Regions from separate parts of the Homo sapiens genome. Here regions 2 and 3 are each linked to region 1. The links are contacts of gene promoters, found by promoter capture Hi-C in blood cells and fetal thymus (Javierre and others, 2016). All regions are on one chromosome and are shown on one strand. The core of a region is centred on a gene start or on the middle of the fragment in contact, and the rest is flanking DNA. Distances in the headings are between cores, read along the strand shown. Region 1 holds the start of WDR12 (WD repeat domain 12). Region 2 overlaps RAPH1 (Ras association (RalGDS/AF-6) and pleckstrin homology domains 1). Region 3 overlaps SUMO1 (small ubiquitin like modifier 1).

Region 1 (4,117 bases), core at 564-3,063:
GCTTCTAGTTAAACTGGAATTAGTAACTATTTGATGATAATAATTAACATATACTGAGTGCTTCCGATGCCGCAGTTAATTCTTATAGTTGATAAAAGTGTGGCACAAAAAGGTTAATCAAGTAGCAGAGGCAGGATTTGAACCCAGGAATTCTGGTTCCAGGGCCCGGATTCGGAGCTACAAAGGTGAGTAAACTGAAAAGAGTCCTACTTTTATTGTCATTGCTCTCTAATAAAAATTATTTTTTCTTCCAATTGTTTAAATCTCTTCTCATTCTCTATTTAAATATTAGGCGTTCATTTAAACATTAGGCGTCTACCTTACAGTAGGACATCTTTAAACAACGTAAAAAAGGAAAGCTTTGTCTTCACCTGCACACATACCGGTCTGCCCATAAATTTTGCAATCCAGTTCTGCCTGATTCTAAACTGCTTGTCTCTTGAAGCGAATGCCTTAAAAAGTGACATTGGGATCAGGATAGTTATCTCCATCCATCCTCCCTCAGAAAAACAACTATATTAGAGTAATTCTTGGGACCATTGAGAACAATACACAGGCCTTTGGGTAACTTCAAGACAAAAAAGGCAAAAAGTCGGGGAGAAGGTGTGGGAGGATGATTTTCCCCTTCTAAACGTAAGGTATAAAAGGGCTCAGAAAGCGGAAAAAGAACCCTAAAAAGCAAGGTGCGGGACGGCGTGAGGGACCACACATTGGGCGCTCCGCCCAAGGGGTCCGGCTCCTTCTCCGCGGCGATGGCGCGTCCTTGGGCTCAGCAACCCTCCTGAAGACACCTAACCTCCTCCTTCTCCAGCCTGCCCCTCTGGGGCCTGCGAGCCCCGTCCCGGGCCGGGGGTCGGAAGCCGTGCCATGTGGGACCCCGAAAAGGCCCCCAAGCTTGGCGCGGAAGGCGCCGCCAGTGACCGGCTGCGGCTGGGGGCGGAGGCCGGCAGTTGCTCGGAGCTCCGGCGGGTCAGGAGGTGACGGGAGGAGGAGGAGGCAGGAGGAAGACGGGGGGTTGGGAGGTAGCGTCCGGTAGGTCTGCGCAGACAGCGCTGCCAGACCTCTGACTCCCCCAGTCCTGCCGCCGCCGATAGCCCCACAAGGCGACATGGGAAGTCCGCCGGAGCAGAGGGGAGAAAATTCAAAACGAGTCTACTCAACCTCGTCTTGGCTCCGAGGCCCCGCCATGGAGACCAGCATAATGCGCAGGCGCGCCCCACCGGGAGCGCGCAGAGCAGTCCCACGACAGTAGGACCACTATCGGCCACCGTCGACCGTTTCCTCTCTCATCCGTTCTTTTCTTTGTATTTCCGCCTCTCGCCTCTCTCTAAAAGCCGCAGTTAGAGGCGAGATTTAGGAAAAACCTCTGCCGAGTGAGCCTCTGGTTGGGAATATGTATGAGAAAAAAAAACTGGCAAGGCGTTAGTCAAGCAAAGCTGAAGGCAGAGGAAATTTGATATCTGGCTGGAGTCTAGAGGATTTAATGCAAATAAGATACTCTGAGGGCAGCGTGGCAAAAAAAGACTACAATTCCCGGTGGTCACAGCGTTTGAGAAGCGATGCTTTCTGAGACTTGTAGTAACTAGGAGCTGTGTTTGAACTATCCAGGCTCAGGACAGCCTCTTGAAAAAAAATTTTTTATTAATAAAGCGGATTTGAGTGGGATCTTTTTCCTAATCGATTACGGGCCCACACGTATGGGAAGAATTCTAACAATGATTAAAGGGACATGCTACCTTTACGACTATCCTTTTCTAATCGATGACTCCTAAATCTAGGAGTAGGTAGTCGATGTTTGTGGTCTGGGCGTCTGTAGAAGGGCAACCTCGTGCTTTCTGCAGAGGAGACCGGAGGGCAGAAGGCAGAGTCCAGGCTTAGACTGCAGTTCCTCGCTTACCTGTGCAGTCTAATTTTGAGCTGCCTCTTTGTAGTCTTAAAAGGCAGGAGCTTCGTGTTGTGGGTCTGCTAACCCGTACGTTTCCGTGGGCAAGTCGTGTGTACTCCTCGCCATGGCTCAGCTCCAAACACGCTTCTACACTGATAACAAGAAGTAAGTAAGCGTTCCAGCCTTCTCTCCCTTCCCCAGGTTCCTTTCCGACCACCCCTTTGGTATGACCTTGTGGATCCCTGGTTGTTTCTGCTGTCACCCCCACCCTTTTTTCTGAGATTACCTGCTTTCTAACCAGCTTCGTAGGTTCTATATAATTTGAATTGTGAGTGTGGAGGAGGCTGAAGGGCTTCAGGTTTGCTTTCTGAATGAAACATTTTATATGTGTAATTTAAAAATGAACAGTGGGCCTTGTTATAGGGTGTCTGCTAGTGGTGGTTCACAGTTTTTGAAAACGGAAAAAAAGTTTTTGAAAATGAAAAAACATATTTACCATTTATGTATATCTATATAGATATATAAACATTTTAACCAGTGGTCTCAAGGTCTGTTAGCACTCATTCGAAAACTAATTATATGCTGCCTTGTGGTATATATTGCATTGTTAGCTTTCTTTGTGTTTGCCTGGTCTCTTCCAACTATATTGGAAGTCTCTTGAGGGCAGGGACTATATATTAATTAAGCTTCTTGGATTGGCTGAGTCAACAAAAAATGTCAAATTTTTCAGTGAAAATGATAATATTTGTCGTGTTAATAAGCTAAAGTTAGCCATAAACTAGGAAACTCCCACCTGAGTTACATCTGTGGTTTTGTTTGTAGCTTTATGAGGAGAGCTAGTAAATCATCTTCTCTCCCCTTGTGTTGTTGCTGAAAGTATACATAAATCGTATTATCAATGCACCTGAGTATATGTACTTACTTACATACATTGCCTTAATACTTCTCTAGGAATGTGGTGATGCATTAACATAACCACTGTGTTTTTTAATTGAAAGTAGGTTTTTTTGTTTTTCTTAAAATAAAATTTTTTGAAATATGTGGGGCTTTTTTTTGTTTGTTTGGTTTGGTTTTTTTGGAGACAGAGTCTCACTCTGTTGCCCAGGCTGGACTGCAGTGGTGGGATCTTGGCTCACTGTAACCTCTGTCTCCCGGGTTCAAACAATCTTCCCGCCTCAGCCTCCAGAGTAGCTGGAATTACAGGCATGTGCCACCAAGCCTGGCTAATTTTTGTATTTTTAGTAGAGACAGGAATTTGTCTTGGTGGCCATGCTGGTCTCGAACTCCTGGCCTCAAGTGATCCGCCCACCTCGGTCTCCCAAAGTCCTGGAATTACAGGCATGACCCACTGCGTCCAGCCTTGAGATAATTGTTGATTCACATGAAGTTGTAAGAGATAATAGGCCACTGTGTTTTAACCCCTGAAATGAATGGATACATGTCATATGTGTGTGTGTGAATTTAGGCCCTCCAAAAGGTAAAAAAATGTAGAAATTAAAATTCTTTGCCGAGTGCTGTGGCTCATGTCTGTAATCCCAACAGTCTGGGAGGCTGAGGAACGCAAATCGCTTATCTCAGGAGTTTGAGACCAGCCTGAGCAACATGATGAAACCCCGTCTCTACCAAAAATACAAAAAATTTGCCAGGCATGGTGGTGCCCACCTGTGGTCCCAGCTACTTGGGAGGCTGAGGTGGGAGGATCTCTTGAGCCTGAGAGGCAGAGGTTGCAGTGAGCCAGGATCAATGCAACTGCACTCCAGCCTGGGGAACATAGTGAGACTCTATCTCAAATAAATAAATAAATAAATAAATAAATAATAAAATTCTTGCTTTTTCTTTTTGCTTAATATTATGGTCAGTAAAATGGAGGCGGGGGGCTAATATAATTGTCACACACACACACAAGAATATACATATATGTGAATTATATACATAAATATATAGCTATAGCCTTATTGCTCAAAGTGTGGTTTGAGGATCATCAGCATCATATTTGCAAAGTTGTGCAACCATCACCACAGTCAATTTTAGAACATTTTTCATCATCCTTGAGCTGTTTGTTAAATAATACCCCCAGCCCTAGGCAACCACTGATCTACTTTCTAGCTCTGTAACTTTCTCTCTTCTGGACGTTTTGAATAAATGGAATTATATAATGTGATCTTTTGTGACTGGCTTCTTTCACTTACTATGATTTTTAAAAAATGGTTTCATTATATCATAGTATATATT
Region 2 (4,262 bases), core at 587-3,086, 540 kb before region 1:
ACAGGCTCGCGCCACCATGCCTGGCTTTTTTTTTTTTTTTTAAGTAGAGACGTGGTTTCACTATGTTGGCCAGGCTGGTCTTGAACTCCTGACCTCAAGTGATCCACCCGCTTCCCAAAGTGCTGGGATTACAGGCATGAGCCACTACACCTGGCTGGAAAGTTCTAATTGAGGTTAAATTAGCAGCTTGGTTTTAATATAAAACCATTTTGGTTTAATAACTGTCATGCATTTCACAGGAGTAAACACAACTTTGTTCTGAGAATCCAACGATCATAAGTCTTTGCAAATAATCTTGTTATTTTAGGAATGTTTTTGTGGAAGTTCTGTAACTGTACCAGAAATTGAAGGAGTCCTTTGGTTGAAGGATGATGGCAAGAAGTCCTGGAAAAAGCGTTATTTTCTCTTGCGAGCATCTGGTATCTACTATGTTCCCAAAGGAAAAGCAAAGGTGTGTCCCTTCTGTTGGAATTTGAACTTCCTCATTATGCTAATTGCTTTTAATTTGTATTGAGTATGCTGACAAGGTGAACCCAGGCTATGATTTGTTTCAGTTCGTGGAAGACATAGAATATTGCTTTGTTTATTAATCTATTATAAAGAAGAAGAAACCTGAAAGTTCTTACTTCTCTGGTCACTAGTTGAGCCTATCTCAGTTCTCTTTACCAAATTTGAAATCATAGTTTTATTTGTTGTTTTTTGGGGACTCTTTCTGGAGTAGTTTTGTTTATTTTTGTTTGGGAAGAACAGCACAGCTCTCTGGGATTACAGGCTTTTTTATCTTGTTTGGGTAATATGCTTCTTCTGCTAAGGGCCACCCTGGTGTAGCTATCACTTCGGTGCTTATTGGCACCAGGACTGTTTTAAACTTTTTTACAGTATTATCTCATCTAGTCTTCACAATAGTCCTATGAGCATATATTGTTGCCCCTATTTAACTGGTGAAAACCTCCCCCCAACCAGTTGCGAATCACTATACTTTACATATGCATTATAGGCACTGAACGACTTGATATTTTCTTGTTCTTTCCAGAGAGCTCTATTATACATTATTGTTTTTAATGTACTAGACTATATTAATAGTATCTTTAAAATGCCAACACTCCTTAACAAGTTAGTGTTCATTGTGAATGACAAAACAGTAAGTAAAATGGGCTGCTTTTTTGTTACGTTAATGATTAAAGAAGAAACATTTATGGAGCATCTCATTGTCTCGTGTAAATAGCAATAATTTCTATTTAGTATTAGCAAAAGTAGTTTTGATTCTCACCTAGAAAATGTTAACCAGGTATATTTGCTTGTTTGTGCATTATTATTAATTTTATCTTTTTGGTGTTTTTATCTTAGGTCTCTCGGGATCTGGTGTGCTTTCTCCAGCTGGATCATGTCAACGTTTATTATGGCCAGGACTATCGGAACAAATACAAAGCACCTACAGACTATTGTCTGGTGCTGAAGGTAAACACATATTTCTTTTTAGGAATTTTAATTGATGTTAGACATAGAGCAGGTTATTGGATATTTTAGAACTGTTGAGATTCCATCAATTATACTGTTTTTGCTTTATTCTCAAAGTTTAAAAAGGAATGGTGAAGTGTGGTAAGGAAAAGAAGCATGTGCTATATCATAGCAGACCCTGGGCCAATTATCTCTAGGTAAGGAGTGAATATTAGATTGTAAGCTTTGAGTTGTGAGATATAAAATGTATTTGATTATAAATTTGAGATTCTCATTTAACACCAGGCTTATTTTAGGAAAACTTAGAACAGAGCCGAATGTAGGTCATAAATGTGCTTTAGTTCTTTTCCTGTACTTACTCAGCAAACCATCAGAGGGCACTGTGTCCAAGTTCAAATCAGACTGGCTGTTATCTGGTCCAGAAATAATTTTTGTCTCTTTTTTTCCCTGAACTATAGTCATGATAGCCCATGTATGTATTGTGACCTGAGCTGTTTTTAGGGAGGTTTTTTTTTCTTCTTTATTCAAGCTTTTGTACTTCTTGCAATGATTATATCTGTACTTCTGAGAAGAACGGACATTTTAAGCAAATTTATAGTGATCTATTAGAACACTGATAAAAACGACATACAAAAATTCAAGAAAATTAGGGAGATAATTTTTTTTTCATTGGCTCCATCTTTGTAATTTCTTGGTAACTACTTAGGTCTACATGTTCATATCATGTTTAATTTCACTTTTCTCTGAGAATTGTCACTTTAGTTTGGGGACTGCCATTAGTTTGGGAGTTTTAGGATTTTAGGATTTTGGAGTTTTGATTGCTTTGATAAAGTCAGTACATTGTAGTAGCAACCTTTTTTTTTTTTTTTTTTTTTTTTTTTTTTGAGGCAGGGTCTTGCTCTGTCACCCAGGCTGGAGTGCAGTGGCACAATCACAGCTCACTGTAGCCTCGACTTCTCAGGCTCCAGCGATATTCCCAGCTCAGTCTCCCAAGTAGCTGGGACTTGAGGTGCATGCCACCACACCCAGCTAATTTTTGTGTTTTTTTGTAGAGACAGGGTTTAGCCATATTGCCTAGGCTAGTCACAGATTCCTGGCCTCAAGCAATCTGCCTGCCTAGGCTTCCCAGAGTGCTAGGATTACAGGCAGAGCCACTGCTCCTGGCCATAATGGTAACCTTTTATTACATAATTGTGTTTTTGGGGAACACCACTGTATCATTTTAGGTACCTTTAGGTGCAAATAGTTTTTTAAAAGTCAGTACAAAGTAGCTTAATTCAGCAGTTTTCAAAATGAGGTCCACAGTCTCCTGAGAGTCAGTCCCTAAGACCATGATGTCAAAATTATTTAATAATGCTAAGATGTTATTTGCCTCTTGAACTTTCATTCTCTCACATATGTATAGTGGAGTTTTCTAAGAGGTTATATGACATGTGATGGTATCTTCACGCTAGTGTAATGTGTGTTTGTCTATTTATTTATTTATTTATTTTTGAGACAGTCTCACTCTGTCTCCCTGGCTGATGTGATCTCGGCTCACTGCAACCTCTGCCTCCCGGGTTCAAGTAGTTCTCATGCCTTAGCTTCCCGAGTAGCTGGGACTACAGCCACATGCCACCACACCCAGTTAATTTTTGTATTTTTAGGACAGATGAGGTTTTGCCATGTTGGTCAGACTGGCCTCAAGTGATCCGCCTGCCTCAGTCTGCTGAAGTGCTGGGATTATAGGCGTGAGCTACTGTGCCTGGCCTGGCCTGTGTATTCTTGTAGTTTAATTTTTTTCTTAGTTTTAATTTATAATGTAAGTATTGCTGGGGTGGAAAAACTTCACTTCATACTCTTAGGGTCCTAGCTGGGCACACAAATTAAATTGACATAAGAGATCAACAGGAGAAAAGCATAATTACTTGTATACTGGATTGGACAAAGAATAATTTGTGAAGAAGCAACTAAATTATATGTGAAGCCTTAAAGATACGAGTTATTTTAACAAGGTCTGTACAGAATTCTGTTGGTTTCAACTTCTCATCCCTGAGGAGAAAGATATTTTCGCTTTCTAGTATTGAGAAAGCATCTTTTGCATGGTAATTTCATCTTCTAAGGCTTTTAAGAAATAGCATGAAGGTCAGAGTGATCTTCTGTACCTGCTGTTTTTCAAGTGTCTTTTAACTTAGTCAATATGCCAGGGTGGTACATTTTTAACTCCTTCAATATCAGTAGACATAATCCACGTAAAAGAAAGTTATTGGGGGACTCTCATAACATGAAAACAGTAAAAGTTGGTTGGTTATTTCAGTGGCTCAAGGTTGTCAGTGAGAACTCAAATTCTTTCCATCTTTCCTTGTTCTACTTCCCGCATATCAGCTTATTCTCAGGCTGATTCACCTCACAGTCCCAAGATGGCTGCTGCAGTTCTATGCATCACATGTAGACCCAGAAAAATCCAGCCAGCAGAAGAGGGATTATTGCTCCCTGTATTTGTCTTTTATAAGAGGAAGGAACTATTTCACAGAAGTTACTCAACCACCCTCCTTTTGAGAGTTACTGGCCCAGAGTACATTTTCTGCTGACAAGCCAATCACTGACAAGGGAATAAAACTACTATGGTTGGCTTACACCAGTCAGAATTCACACCCTGTGGGATATAGGTGAGAGGTAAGGCTCTGCCAGGAAAGAAGTGGGGAGGAGGAGATAGCCATAGGGGCCTGCACTCAACCTGTCAGGGTCATTTTAAAAATGAAATGTTGACCTTTCTTTCTTAATAGGTATTCATCTGTTTTGGGAGCAATTTCATTATATGTTCT
Region 3 (3,830 bases), core at 237-2,736, 680 kb after region 1:
GGGAGAGAATCCCTGACTGGGAGGCTCCGTGGCCCTGAGAAGCGGCTGGACTCTCCACTTTTTGCTTCTTCGTCGGGAGGGCGTGGGGCGGCGAGGGAGGGAGACGTCCGATGTTGTTGGGAATCCTGCCTCCGTTCGGATTGGAGCTAGGGCAAGGATGCCGCTGCTCTCCTCTGAGTCTTTTTCCGTGTGGGGGTGCAGAGCTGTCGCCTCTTTACTGTACTTTCCCGTTTCTTACTCGGGATTGGTTCATCCTAGCTCTCCAGTTGTAAGAGAGCATTCATAATAACCAAGAAAGAAAATAGAACTAAACTGCTAGAGCAACAAAAAGCATCTCACCTGGGCATTAACCTGAGGAAGTCTCATATTTTTGAGGAAAAGCATAGGAAAACTTTGTGTATGTAGAGTCGTTGCAGAATATTTGCAGAAAGTTGCCTGGTAAGGCAAAGTGCTCCAGCTCACTGTTAGTATCAATAATTTACTTGGGATTTGCACTTAATCAGGAGTGATCGATTTCCCCTTTTCTTCCTCATCCTGTTCTAATTAAACAACTTTATGGCTAGTTTTTAATTCATAAAGTTTTTGTCTGGTCTTTTGTTTGCTCAGACGACTTTGACTTTTTTTTTTTTTTGAGACGGAGTCTCGCTGTGTCGCCAGGCTGGAGTGCAGTGGTGCGATCTCCACTCACTGCACCCTCCCGCCTCCTGGGTTCAAGCAATTTTCGGGCCTCAGCCTCCCGAGTAGCTGGGATTACAGGCACTCACCACCAGGCACTCACCACCACACCTAGCTAATTTTTGTATTTTTAGTAGAGACGGGGTTTCACCATATTGGCCAGGCTGGTCTCGATCTCCTTACCTCGTGATCCGCCCACCTCGGCCTCCCAAAGTGCTGGGATTACGGGCGTGAGCCACCGCGCCCAGCCGACTTTGACTTTTTACATTATTTTTGGACTTTTACTCATTTAATGGTAGTTATTCAGAAAACTATTTTTCATTCAACTCCACGATGTACTTGAACTTTTAAATTTAACACACCTATTCCCTTGGCTTTTAACCCAGTTTTGTACCATTTCGTGAGAGCAAGTGAGGTTTTTGCAGATTGGTACTATTGTACAAAATGTACACTTAACATTTTAAAGCTTAACCATAATCTAGATGAATTTTGGATGGATCTACTTACTAATAATCTAGATTAATTCCCAAGTGGGCATTGTGTTTCCCTAGGTAGTTGTTTACTTGGTTACTAGGAAGAAAAGTATAGGCGTAAATGCTTAGTTTCGTCAGCCTTTTATTTTGTTTCCCAGAAGCGTCTAGGAAGCATTTTGAAATTTATTGTAGACTGATGGAAGAGCAACATAAAGAAATAATTATAAAATGTAGAATTTATTGCTCCATTTTGAAGTCAGGTTATTTAAGAGATACATAAAGAAATGAAGGACCTAGGATACAAATAGATTCTTTTATTTCATGTTCATACTAGGACATTATTTGTCTTTTTCACTGTCATTCTTTCATGAGTGTTCAATGGACGTTTCTAGAAACTAACATGACTTGTGATAAAACAAATTAAATGTGGAAGCAGATGTGAAAATCCAGCTGTTTAGCTGTTTTTATTAAGCCAGACATTAAAGAGATTTGCAAAAATGTGTAACAGTCCCACTCTTTCATTAATTTTGTTTTGAAAAATATTTTTAATAAAAATATATATTTGTTAACATATAACAGGTTTGTTGGTATTTTAAAATGAATTAATATTTAAGACATTTCTCAGTTTTCAGTGTTTAATACTGTAAACATCAATAGATGTAACCAACCTAACAAAAGCTTTATGGGATTCTAAATAAATTTAAGTGTAAGATTCCTGAGAACAAAAAGTTTGAGAACTGTTGCTGTAGGCTGATTGACCAACATCATTAGGACTCGCCGGGTGCAGTGGCTTAAGCCTGTAATCCCAGCACTTTGGGAGGTCAAGTTGGGTGGATCACGAGGTCAGGAGTTCTAGACCAGCCTGACTAACATGGTGAAACCCCGTCTCTACTAAAAATACAAAAAATAGCCAGGCGTGGTGGTGCGCACCTGTAATCCCAGCTACTCAGAAGGCTGAGGCAGGAGAACTGCTTAAACCCGGGAGGCGGAGGTTGCAGTAACTGGAGATCACTCCACTGCACTCCAGCCTGGGCGACAGAGTGAGACTCCGTTTAAAAAAAAAAAAAAGACTCAGTACATTGGCCGGGTGCAGCGCCTCACACCTGTAATCCTGGCACTTTGGGAGGCCTAAGTGGGGGAGGATTGCTTGAGCCCAGTTTGAGACCAGCCTGGGCAATATAGAGAGACGTCGTCTCTACAAAAAATAAAATTAGCCAGGCATGATGGCCTGTACCTGTAGTCCCAGCTACTCAGGAGGTTGATATGGGAGGATCACCTGAGCCTGCGAGGTCGAGGTTGCAGCAAGCCAAGATCATGCCACTGTACTTCAGCCTGGGCGATAGAGACCCTGACTCAAAACAAAGAAGACCCAGTACAAGTTCAGTGTTGAGTGCTAAAGACTTAAAAGAGTTATAAAGCTGAACCCTTAATCTTAAGAGGTTTATAAGTGAGAACAAGAATCTCCAAATCCTGTACTGTTTAATATCAGCATGAGACTAAACCACTGTCCTAAGAAGACAACCTTAATTTGAATCAAGTTATTTTAGAGTGATGTGTTTTCTGAGGCAGCTCTCAGAAGGTTATTGTCTGGTGTTAAAATAGTGAAATTGAGTAATAACAAGGTTAAAATCGGTGGACATTAAATACACACAAGACTTCAATTGCTGGGTCCTCCATTGATTAATGAAAAAATGATTGTTTTTGGAATTTGAGTGAAACACTTCTTAATGGCTGAGTAGGGTGGCTTACGCCTGTAATCCCACCACTTTGGGATCACTTGAGGCCAGGACTTTGAGACCAGCTTGGCCAACATGAGGAAAGCACGTCTTTACTAAAAATACAAAAATTAGCTGGGCCTGGTGGCTCATGCCTGTAATCCCAGCTACTTGGGAGTCTGAGGCGAGAGGATCGCTTGAGCTTGGGAGGTGGAGGTTGCAGTGAGCGGAGATCATGCCACTGCATTCCAGCCTGGGCGACAGAGCAAGACTCTGTCCCAAAAAAAAAAAAAAAAAAAAAAGAAAAGGAAAAAAAACAAAAAACTTTTTTTTTTTTTTTTTTTTGAGACGGAGTCACAAAAAATTAGCCACCATGCCCAGCTAATTTTTTTGTATTTTTGGTAGAGACAGGGTTTCACCATATTGGCCAGGCTGTCTCGAACTCCTGACCTTGTGATCCGCCCGCCTCGGCCTCCCAAAGTGCTGGGATTACAGGCGTGAGGTGCCGTGCCTGGCAAAAAAAAAAAAAACACAAAAAAACCCACTTCTTTATAATTTTAACAATTCCAACATCATCTAGTAGATTTGTGTACCATTATTAAATAATCCTTTAAAATAAGTTCTAAACCTAAGGCCCATAGACCATAAAGACTGAAAGTTCGCTTACATTGTATGGAGTGTTTTGTGAGTATTTGTGCATACGTATTTTTTTTTTTTTAAGATAGAGCATTGCTCAATTGCCCAGGCTGGAGTACAGTGTGGTGTGATCTCGGTTACTGCAACCTCTGCCTCCTGGGTTCAAGTGATTCTCCTGCCTCAGCCTCCCTAGTAGCTGGGATTATAGACACATGACACCATACCTGGCTAATTTTTGTATTTTTTGTAGAGATGGGGTTTCATCAGGCTGGTCTCGAACTCCTGACCTCAGGTGATCTGCCCGTCTTGGCCTCCCAAAGTGCTGGGTTTA

The links. Contacts are between HindIII fragments. The CHiCAGO score rates a contact against its expected background, and 5 or more counts as called.
Region 2: a fragment that was not itself captured here is called in contact with the fragment with the promoter of WDR12 in region 1 in 3 of 17 cell types (megakaryocytes, fetal thymus and erythroblasts); the score reaches 11.5 in megakaryocytes.
Region 3: a contact is called between a fragment that was not itself captured here and the fragment with the promoter of WDR12 in region 1, in 2 of 17 cell types (naive B cells and total B cells). The highest score is 8.9, in naive B cells.

The regions. Positions count from the first base shown.
Region 1 is chr2:202,909,369-202,913,485 of GRCh38, reverse strand. It overlaps WDR12 (WD repeat domain 12), which reads left to right and starts at 1,813. Exons shown (of 13, transcript NM_018256.4): 1 at 1,813-2,050. The coding sequence starts at 2,010. It overlaps CARF (calcium responsive transcription factor), which reads right to left and starts at 1,211. Exons shown (of 17, transcript NM_024744.17): 1 at 384-1,211. RefSeq lists enhancers at 931-980, 1,081-1,280, 1,321-1,470, 1,481-1,630. The HindIII fragment of the contact is 1,677 bases long and covers 897-2,573 here.
Region 2 is chr2:203,451,626-203,455,887 of GRCh38, reverse strand. RAPH1 (Ras association (RalGDS/AF-6) and pleckstrin homology domains 1) reads left to right here. Exons shown (of 14, transcript NM_213589.3): 9 at 308-451; 10 at 1,348-1,458. Among named protein-coding and RNA genes, the nearest start is that of RAPH1, 82 kb to the left of the region's middle. The HindIII fragment of the contact is 306 bases long and covers 1,684-1,989 here.
Region 3 is chr2:202,234,201-202,238,030 of GRCh38, reverse strand. The region is part of intron 1 of SUMO1 (small ubiquitin like modifier 1); the gene reads left to right. Among named protein-coding and RNA genes, the nearest start is that of SUMO1, 2.5 kb to the left of the region's middle. The HindIII fragment of the contact is 685 bases long and covers 1,144-1,828 here.